Linked DNA regions of Homo sapiens: region 1 is linked to region 2. The links are contacts of gene promoters, found by promoter capture Hi-C in human tissues and cell types (Jung and others, 2019). All regions are on one chromosome and are shown on one strand. Each heading gives the region's core, a stretch centred on a gene start or on the middle of the fragment in contact. The rest is flanking DNA. Distances are from core to core; before and after follow the strand shown. Region 1 overlaps DLG1 (discs large MAGUK scaffold protein 1). Region 2 holds the start of SENP5 (SUMO specific peptidase 5).

Region 1 (4,054 bases), core at 975-3,474, 360 kb before region 2:
GATTACGCTTGTTAAGGTATGATTTTCAAAAAAGCAAAGTTCTTAGGCAAATGTAGAATGAACATGTGTCACAGATTGTATTCCACTCACTTGTTAATGAGAGAAATAGTAAGATGTTAAACTTGACCAGAGTGCATTTGTTATCTAAGTATTTATAGGCAATGTTAATAGAAGATTGCTGAGTTAGATAAGAAACTGATTAATATCCAACGAGGCCAGGAATTTAATCTTTGTGGTTATCTGGGCAAAAATTATTTGCTTCTCTATTGAATAAAAAGCTACAGGTTAACATATATAACTTCACTGTCTAGGACTTTTTTTTTTTTTTTTTTTTTAAGAGACAGGCTGTCACTCTGTCACCCAGGCTGGAGTGCAGTGGCTCAATCATAGCTCAAGCAGTGGCTCAAGGGCTCAAGTGATCTTTCCACCTCAGCCTCCCAAGTATTTATTTATATTTTTTTTAGAGATGGACTCTTGCTGTGTTGACTAGGCTGGTCTCGAACTTCTGGCCTCAAGTAATCCTCCCACTTTGACCTCCTAAAGTGCTGGGATGGGACTTCTAGTAAATAGTGTGTTAAAGTGTGCATTCCCCTAAATTAGAATTTCTCAATTTAGGCATCCTTGATTTTTGGGCTAGATCATTCTTTGTTGTGGAAAGCTGTCCAGTGTGTTGTTATAAAATGTTTAGTAGCATCCCTGGCTTCTACCCACTAGATGCCCGTAGACTCTTTTCCTCGATTGGGCAGCAGACATTGCCAGGTGTCCCTGGGGGCGCAAAGTTGTTCCATGTTGAAAACCATTGCCCTGGATAATCTTGAACAACCTTTGTCTCTATACAGCATTGAACGTACTACCAATTTTTTTGCCTCTTTTTCCAAGCTTTTGATAATTTTTCTGACACATGAAAGCACTTTGCAGAATGCCTGACTAGTAGTAATTATTAAATGACAATTGCTACTGTTAATAATTATTTATTATTATTACTTAAATATTGTTTCTTAGGTAGTTTGATAGGTACTATTTGGCTGAATGTATCTGGGATATTGATTTGTTAGATAACATCATTAAAAAGCAGAACAGCCTAAGACACTTTAGTGCAAATCTATCAGATCCACTCAGAGTTTCAAAATAGTCAAAATTAGTCATTTTTCCTGGTAGGTCCCAAAATCAAATGCATGTTTTTTATACTGTCTTCTGCAGTTTTAGGTATGGTAAATTTTGACCCAAAATGTATACGTTGAACTCATTCATTCAGTTTACTAAAAAAACAGACAAGAAACACTGGTTAATTCCTAGTAATCATTAAAATGATCATAGCACAATATTATCATAGTTGAATATATTACATGTTTATTGTGTAACCAACTGAATAAGGCAGACTGTATTAAGAGCACAGGCTAAGTGGACATGCTTGAACTTTGCCTGACATTTTGTTCTATTAGACATGTGCCAAATAATGTGCTTGCTTATATAGTTTTAGGGGAGCAGACATGTCTGCACAGAACTGAATTTTATTAAGACTCAGCGTGTACAACCTACATGATCAATGAGACAAATCCTCCATGTGCACAAAAATTGGAGAAGTTGTATTTTGAGATTGACACAAAATGAGTTTACTTGGTAGTATGGATAAATAAATTGTTATAGATAAACACCAGTATTAAAACTTGTTACACATTTGTGCTTCCAGGTTTTTAAAATTAAAATTTGTAAATTTGAAAATGAAAGTTTTAAAATGAAAGAACATTGGTGACACCTCTGAGGCACTGCAGTGAAAAAGGCTGAGAACCACAGCTTAACAACTATGGCTCTGACTTAGTAAATGTATTTTTAAATATAAAGGCTTCTAAGGAGCACAGTTTACTTTTTCTTGCCCTAGTTACAGTTGACATTTGACTTTTCATTTAAGTTCCACAAGTCATGTGATTTGCAGTTATTTACCTGTCAGGGTAATTAGATTGGAGAACCAGCTATTTCCTTTACTGTTTTAGAAATGTAACCTAGTTTTTTCTCTCTCTCACCCCTTATACAATTACATAAGTAGGAATGGAACAGAATAGAGAATTGTGTAGGAAATTGGAATTAAAAGTGTTCTTGAGCAGGTTTGGAATTAGAGTTATGGTTGGTGGTAAGGGAATTTTTGTCTTTTGGCACGCTGTTTCTGGTGTATAGCAAAATATAGTATACTTTTCCACAAACAGCTTTGCTTACTAAGCATACAGAGACCAGGCTGTTGAGTACAAATATATGAATTGATAATTTTAGTTTTGTAAAATTGTTCTTGTTTTTGTTTTTTGTTTTTTTGGTTTTTTTTTGAGATGGAGTCTCACTCTGTCGCCCAGGCTGGAGTGCAGTGGCGCAATCTCGGTTCACTGCAACTTCCATCTCCCAGTTTCAAGCTATTCTCCTGCCCCAGTCCCCCAAGTAGCTGGGACTACAGGTGCGTACCACCACGCCTGGCTAATTTTTTTGTGTTTTTACTAGAGACAGGGTTTCACCATGTTGGCCAGGCTGGTCTCGAACTCCTGACCCTCAGATGATCCACCCACCTCGGCCACCTGAAGTGCTGGGATTACAGGCAGTTTTGTAAAAGTTGACAGTCTTCATTAGCAATTATATTTCTTAACTGCAATATAGATGTAGTACTTAGAACAACCCAAATAATAGTGGAAGAAAGAAAAGATAATTACATAGATGAAGCAGTAAATATTCCTTTGTGTGTTATTTAGTATTTTACTGGCATTTGTTAATTCAGCTTTTGAGTTTCAATAAATACTGTCCATTTAAATTATAGCGAAGGTACTGCATAAGATGTAACATCTGTGTGCAAGATTTTAAATATAAAATACTGTAAGAATGACATTTTCACAGTATTTTATTTGTTGCTTTGAATGTAATTAGTTAATGATAGCTTTTCTGCCAAAGGGTTGATTAAAAAGCCAAAGCACAGAAAATAATATTTGAAAGAGTGGATAAATCAGTGATATGTCGGTGAGTTAAACTGCTTGACTTTCTGCTTTTAAACTTTCCATATGGTATAGATATACATCAAAATTGGTTCAGTAATGTTTTTCCAGATTTTAAGTGATTTTGATGTATTAGAAAATACTGAACTTTTTTTACTGTCCAAGTTTAATTTGTAATTATTCTACTTAACTTTGCCAGATGATTGATTTTTGTTGTTGTTGCTTGAATTGTTTATAGAGAGGAATCAAACTACAAAATGTGATAATTGAGGTACTCTTTTTACCATTAAAACTATATTTTAAATCAGACTACAGTGTTTAGTGGTGTAGTAAGAAAGCATCACATATGACAAGCTCTGGGCTCATCTCTTATTGAACCGTGTAATGAATCCCTTGCTGCAACATCTTTGCCCCTCCCCCAAAGCAGCCAGCATATATTTGAGCATAGTGGCTCTGCTCGAGTTGTATCTTATTCTCATGGAGGAGATAGCAGAGCTTGTACTGCAGCAAGTGGAGCTCTGTGGTGAATCCGATGCTGGATTACATTTTAAGGATATTAGCAAGGCCCTGACAAAGTGGTGCTAAATGAGCACTTTCATTCTGGTAATTTGACTATAATTTTAGTGAAGCAGTTTTATTATGCAGGAAAAAGAAACAGCATTTTAATTCCAATCATAGTATACCGACCTGATCTCTGCTGTGGGGGTGGAAACAATGAAGAATGCAACATTTTAATACAATTTTTTTTAAAAAGAATGCTTTGGATCTAGATTAAATGTTCAAGACAGTCAGCAAACAACATGCACAAAGGCATTTTTCTGGAATTTCAGTCTTGGATCGATTTAAATGCTCAGGGTCTGAAAAAATGTCTCCTAGCATCAAAAACTTGGATTGCTTTTCTCCGATGTTATGCCACTGTAAAGTAGCATGCTCCAACAGCACAATATCCTTAATGTTTGGATGTAAGGTGGGTTTGAATAATACTTCCTTAAAAAGCTTGGTTTTAAAATCCAATAGTATTTCAGCAAAGAAATGTAATTTAGGTTAGATGGTTTGATTGACTTTAATTCATGTAATAGATTCCTGTC
Region 2 (4,253 bases), core at 1,149-3,648:
CTTAATTTTGAAAATATTACCCACGCCCAAAAAAAGTCACAAGGGTTTCACCATAATAGGTAAGAAAAATACATGTAAAGCACTGTGACCACCTTACCAGTTGACCCTTTCTGAGCGTCTACCAAATTCTTTAAATCAGTGACAGAGTACAATCTAACCAAGAAAAGAAAAAGGAACTAAAAATTCGCAAAGACATGCTTAATATCGCAAATGCCAAGGTGATCTACTTCAATCAGATGTTTGGCAACTAGAGAAGCACAGAACCCCGTTCTCAAACTGAGCTCCATAGGAAGCTGGCTAATAACACAAAGTAAATGGCCATGCATGCCAGGATGAAGGAGGCAGAAAGGCAGGCCTGTGTATAGAGCACTGGGTTTATGACAAGCTAGAATAAAAGCAAAATATTGTTAAATTTCAATTTTTCTATGATTTTTGAAGGATTCACATAATGGCCTACCAAAAAAAAAAAAAAAGGCTGATTTAGAAAGTAATATAGCCCAGGCGCAGTGACTCACTCCTGTAATCCCAGCACCTTTTTTTTTTTTTTTTTTTTTTTTTGAGACGGAGTTTTGCTCTTGTTGCCCAGGCTGGAGTGTAATGGCACTATCTCAGCTCACCACAACCTCGCCTCCCGGGTTCAAGCTAGTCTCCTGCCTCAGCCTTCCGAGTAGCTGGGATTACAGGCATGCGCCACCACGCCTGGCTAATTTTGTATTTTTAGTAGAGATGGGGTTTCACCATGTTGGTTAGGCTGATCTCGAACTCCCGACCTCAGGTGATCTGCCCGCCTCGGCCTCCCAAAGTGCTGGGATTACAGGCGTCAACCACCGCGCCCGGCTGATCCCAGCACTTTTGAGAGGCGGAAGCAGGTAGATCACTTGAGGTCAGGAGGTCGAGACCAGCCTGGCCAACATGGTGAAACCCCATGTCTACTAAAAATACAAAAATTAGCCGGGCGCGATGGCGGGCACCTGTAATCCCAGCTACTCTGGAGGCTGAGGCAGGAGAATCGCTTGAACCTGGGAGGAGGAGGTTGCAGTGAGCTGAAAAGATCGCGCCACTGCACTCCAGGCTGGGTGTCAGAGTGAGACCCTGTCCCCCCTCCAAAAAAAAATTGTGAGCCCAGGTGTAAATGAAGCCCCCCTCCCCAGCACCCTCCTCTACATACCAAGCTTTTCTCCTAGAAAAGATGCACTGGGAAAAAGCTATCTTGAGTAAAGATCAAAACTGATATAAGCCATCCCTCATATACCAATAATATGCCATCAATAAGCGTGAGACATGTGGATGGCTAGGAGAGAGTCTGGTTTCTTCCTGATGCTGCCCACCCAAAACAGAGACTGCAGTTAGGCTCTGACCACACGAGCGCCTGGCATCTCTAGGCAACCTTTTCCATACCAAGCTTAGTTATTCCGGGCAAAATGCAAAAAAAAAACATAAGTAGGAACCTATCATGAAGTGTCCTGGATATTCTTAAATTAAATTTAACCAGATTCTCAAAACATTTCATAACTAACGTCTGCTTTCTTCATTTAATTCTCCAAACATTATAATTTACATTGGTAGAAGAAAGTCCCACTTTACCTGCGGTGAAAAAGGTCGAAATGTCTATCTAGCATGAGATGAAAAACACTACCAGAGAGCAGGGTAGGATTTCACCTCGGCTATTCTCGCTCTAAGTCCAAAACTCCCACATCCTCTCCGCATCCCTCCACCCCGACAGAGTGGCCACAGGGCGTAGAGCGGAGGCTGATACCGCTCAGAGCAGACCGAAGGGAAAAGACGTCTCCCACCGCGCTCATGCCCAACCGGGCTCTCTGGAAAAGGGTCCCGGGGAGCGCGAGGAAAGAAACGAAGGCCGGAAGGAGGCAGAGCGGTCTAAGCAAATAAAAACCCCGGACTTCCACGGCGGCCGGAGCTGGAGGCCTGTGACAGCGGCTCCTCCTCTCAGAGCTTTCCCGGCTTCAGGAGGAGCTGGGGGGCGCCAGCTTCCCGGTGCCTGCGACGCACAGCCCGGCTGGAGCGAGAGCGCAGGGCAGCGGCCCCTCGGGACGAGCTCGCTCGCCTCCCCCGGAAAGGGAGGCTGTGGCCGAGACGGACGGCGGCCTCCAGCTCGGGCGGGGGAGGGCGGCTCGAGGCCTCCGGACCGGGCGCTGAGGTGGCGCACCGGCGCGGGAATGGCCCCAGCCAGCCCCGCCAGGCGATCGCTGAGTCCGTCACTCGTCTGCCCGCGTCCCCGCTTACCTGCTACCCTCGTTCCTGGCAGCTGCCCCGCCGCCGGCCCCGTCGCGGCAGCAGCCTGGACCGCGGACCCCGCCTTCGTCAGCTCCAAGGGAAGCCCCGCCAGCGACGAGGCGTCCGGCCTGTTCGCCGCGGCCACAGCCGCCGAGCTTCCTCTGAAGCGGCTGCCGCGACGCCGGCGCTGGCCTATCGCGTCACCTCCTCCGCGCCCTTCCGCCTGCGAGGCTGGGCCTGGCACCGCCCGCTTCCGGCGCTCCCGCCCCGCCTCCCGACCCGGGGCCGCCCCGCCCCCGCCCGTCACCGCGTCCTTAGCCCCGGCCTCCCTCAGAACGCGCTGGGATGGGAACCGCGTTCAGGAGCTGCTAAGCGCGTTTGAGACTTCAGCCCCTTCTCCAGCTTTTAACCTAAAAGGGCTAAATCAGACCGCAGCTAGTGTACACCCCTACCCTCCGCTGATCCCGTCACCCCTGCGCCGAAAGCAAAAGACCCATTCCAGCTCTGGACGTTGTGAGGCCTGGCCCAGGCGTCCGCTCTCTGGTTTTCCTATTGATCTTACCCCTGGTATTGTGATTGGCCTCTTTATCTATGTCTTACCCGCCCCAACTGTGAATGCTTTCCAAAATTATAAGCCGATGTCCTGACAGGCAAAAACATAATAATAGCAGATTTATGGCGGAAGATGAGTTCAGTTTTGAACATACTCGATCTGGAAGAATAAAGTGGAGGTGACTGCAATGGAAAACCAACAGTGCGTTGCTGAGAGCCTGTGTAGGCAGTAAGGATATGCATTGATGGTGGAGAAGATAAAAACAATACCGAAGCCAACTGCAGGATGGTTTGCTTTTAATTATCATCATGTGTCAGAAAATTCTAAACAATGTTAATGAAAAAGTACTCCTTTCCAAACAAAAGCTTTGTTTAGTCTTAGTTCTAAGCAATGGCTGCAATTACTGTTGATTTTTTTTTCTTTTTTCTTTTCTTTTTTTTTTTTTTCCAAACAGGGTCTTGCTGTCTCGCCCAAGCCGGAGTGCCGTGGCACACCCTAGGCTCGCTGTAACCTCTGCCTCCTGGGCTCAAGCGATCCTCCCACCTCATCTTCCAGGGTACCTGCGACCACAGGCTCCTGCACCACGCCCGGCTAATTTTTTATTACTATTACTATCATTATTTTTGTAGCGATGACATCTCCCTATGTTGCCCAGGCTGGTCTTGAACCCCTGAGCTCAAGTGATCCTCCCACCTGGGCCTCCCACAGTGCTCGAATTACAGGCGTGAACCACCACACCAGGCCCTCTCACTTCTTTTTAACAGTTTCTCTTTGTCAGTGATTTTTTTTTTTTTTTTAGAGGAGTGTCGCTCTGTCGCCCAGGCTGCAGTGCAGTGGCGCCATCTCGGCTCACTGCAAGCTCTGCCTCCCGGGTTCACGCCATTCTCCTGCCTCAGCCTCCTGAGTAGCTGGGACTACAGGCGTCCACCACCACGCTTGGCTAATTTTTTTTGTATTTCTTTAGTAGAGACCGGGTTTCACCAAGTTAGCCAGGATAATCTCGATCTCCTGACCTCGTGATCTGCCCGCCTCAGCCCCCCAAAGTGCTGGGATTACAGGCGTGAGCCACCGCACCCAGCCTGTTAGTGATTTTTAGCCATTTATTTTGTGCCCTATCTTTGTTTTCTTTGTATTTATCTGTCTTGGATATCATTGAGTTTCTCTGATTTGTGGGTAGATGTCTTGCATCAGTTTTGAGAAATTCTCAATCATTATCTCTTCAGATATGGTTTTTGCTGCATTCTCTATGCCTGTTCTCCGAGACACCAATTACATATGTAAGATTATTATTATTATTATTGAGACAGAGTTTCACTCTTTTTGCTCAAGCTGGAGTGCAGTGGCGCAATCTCGTCTCACTGCAACCTCTGCCTCTGCCTCCCGGGTTCAAGCGATAATCCTGCCTCAGCAGTATTATCTACTGAGGTAGATAATACTATTATAATAGTATTATTATCGAGTAGCC

What was found. Contacts are between HindIII fragments. The study calls those that stand out against the background at their distance.
Region 1: a fragment that was not itself captured here is called in contact with the fragment with the promoter of SENP5 in region 2 in 1 of the 25 tissues and cell types used here (spleen).

What each region holds. Positions count from the first base shown.
Region 1 is chr3:197,225,736-197,229,789 of GRCh38, reverse strand. All of the region lies in intron 4 of DLG1 (discs large MAGUK scaffold protein 1), which reads left to right. Among named protein-coding and RNA genes, the nearest start is that of MIR4797, 66 kb to the left of the region's middle. The HindIII fragment of the contact is 3,890 bases long and covers 280-4,054 here.
Region 2 is chr3:196,866,065-196,870,317 of GRCh38, reverse strand. It overlaps SENP5 (SUMO specific peptidase 5), which reads right to left and starts at 2,398. Exons shown (of 10, transcript NM_152699.5): 1 at 2,245-2,398. RefSeq lists an enhancer at 889-1,390 and a silencer at 2,042-2,621. The HindIII fragment of the contact is 4,194 bases long and covers 1-3,903 here.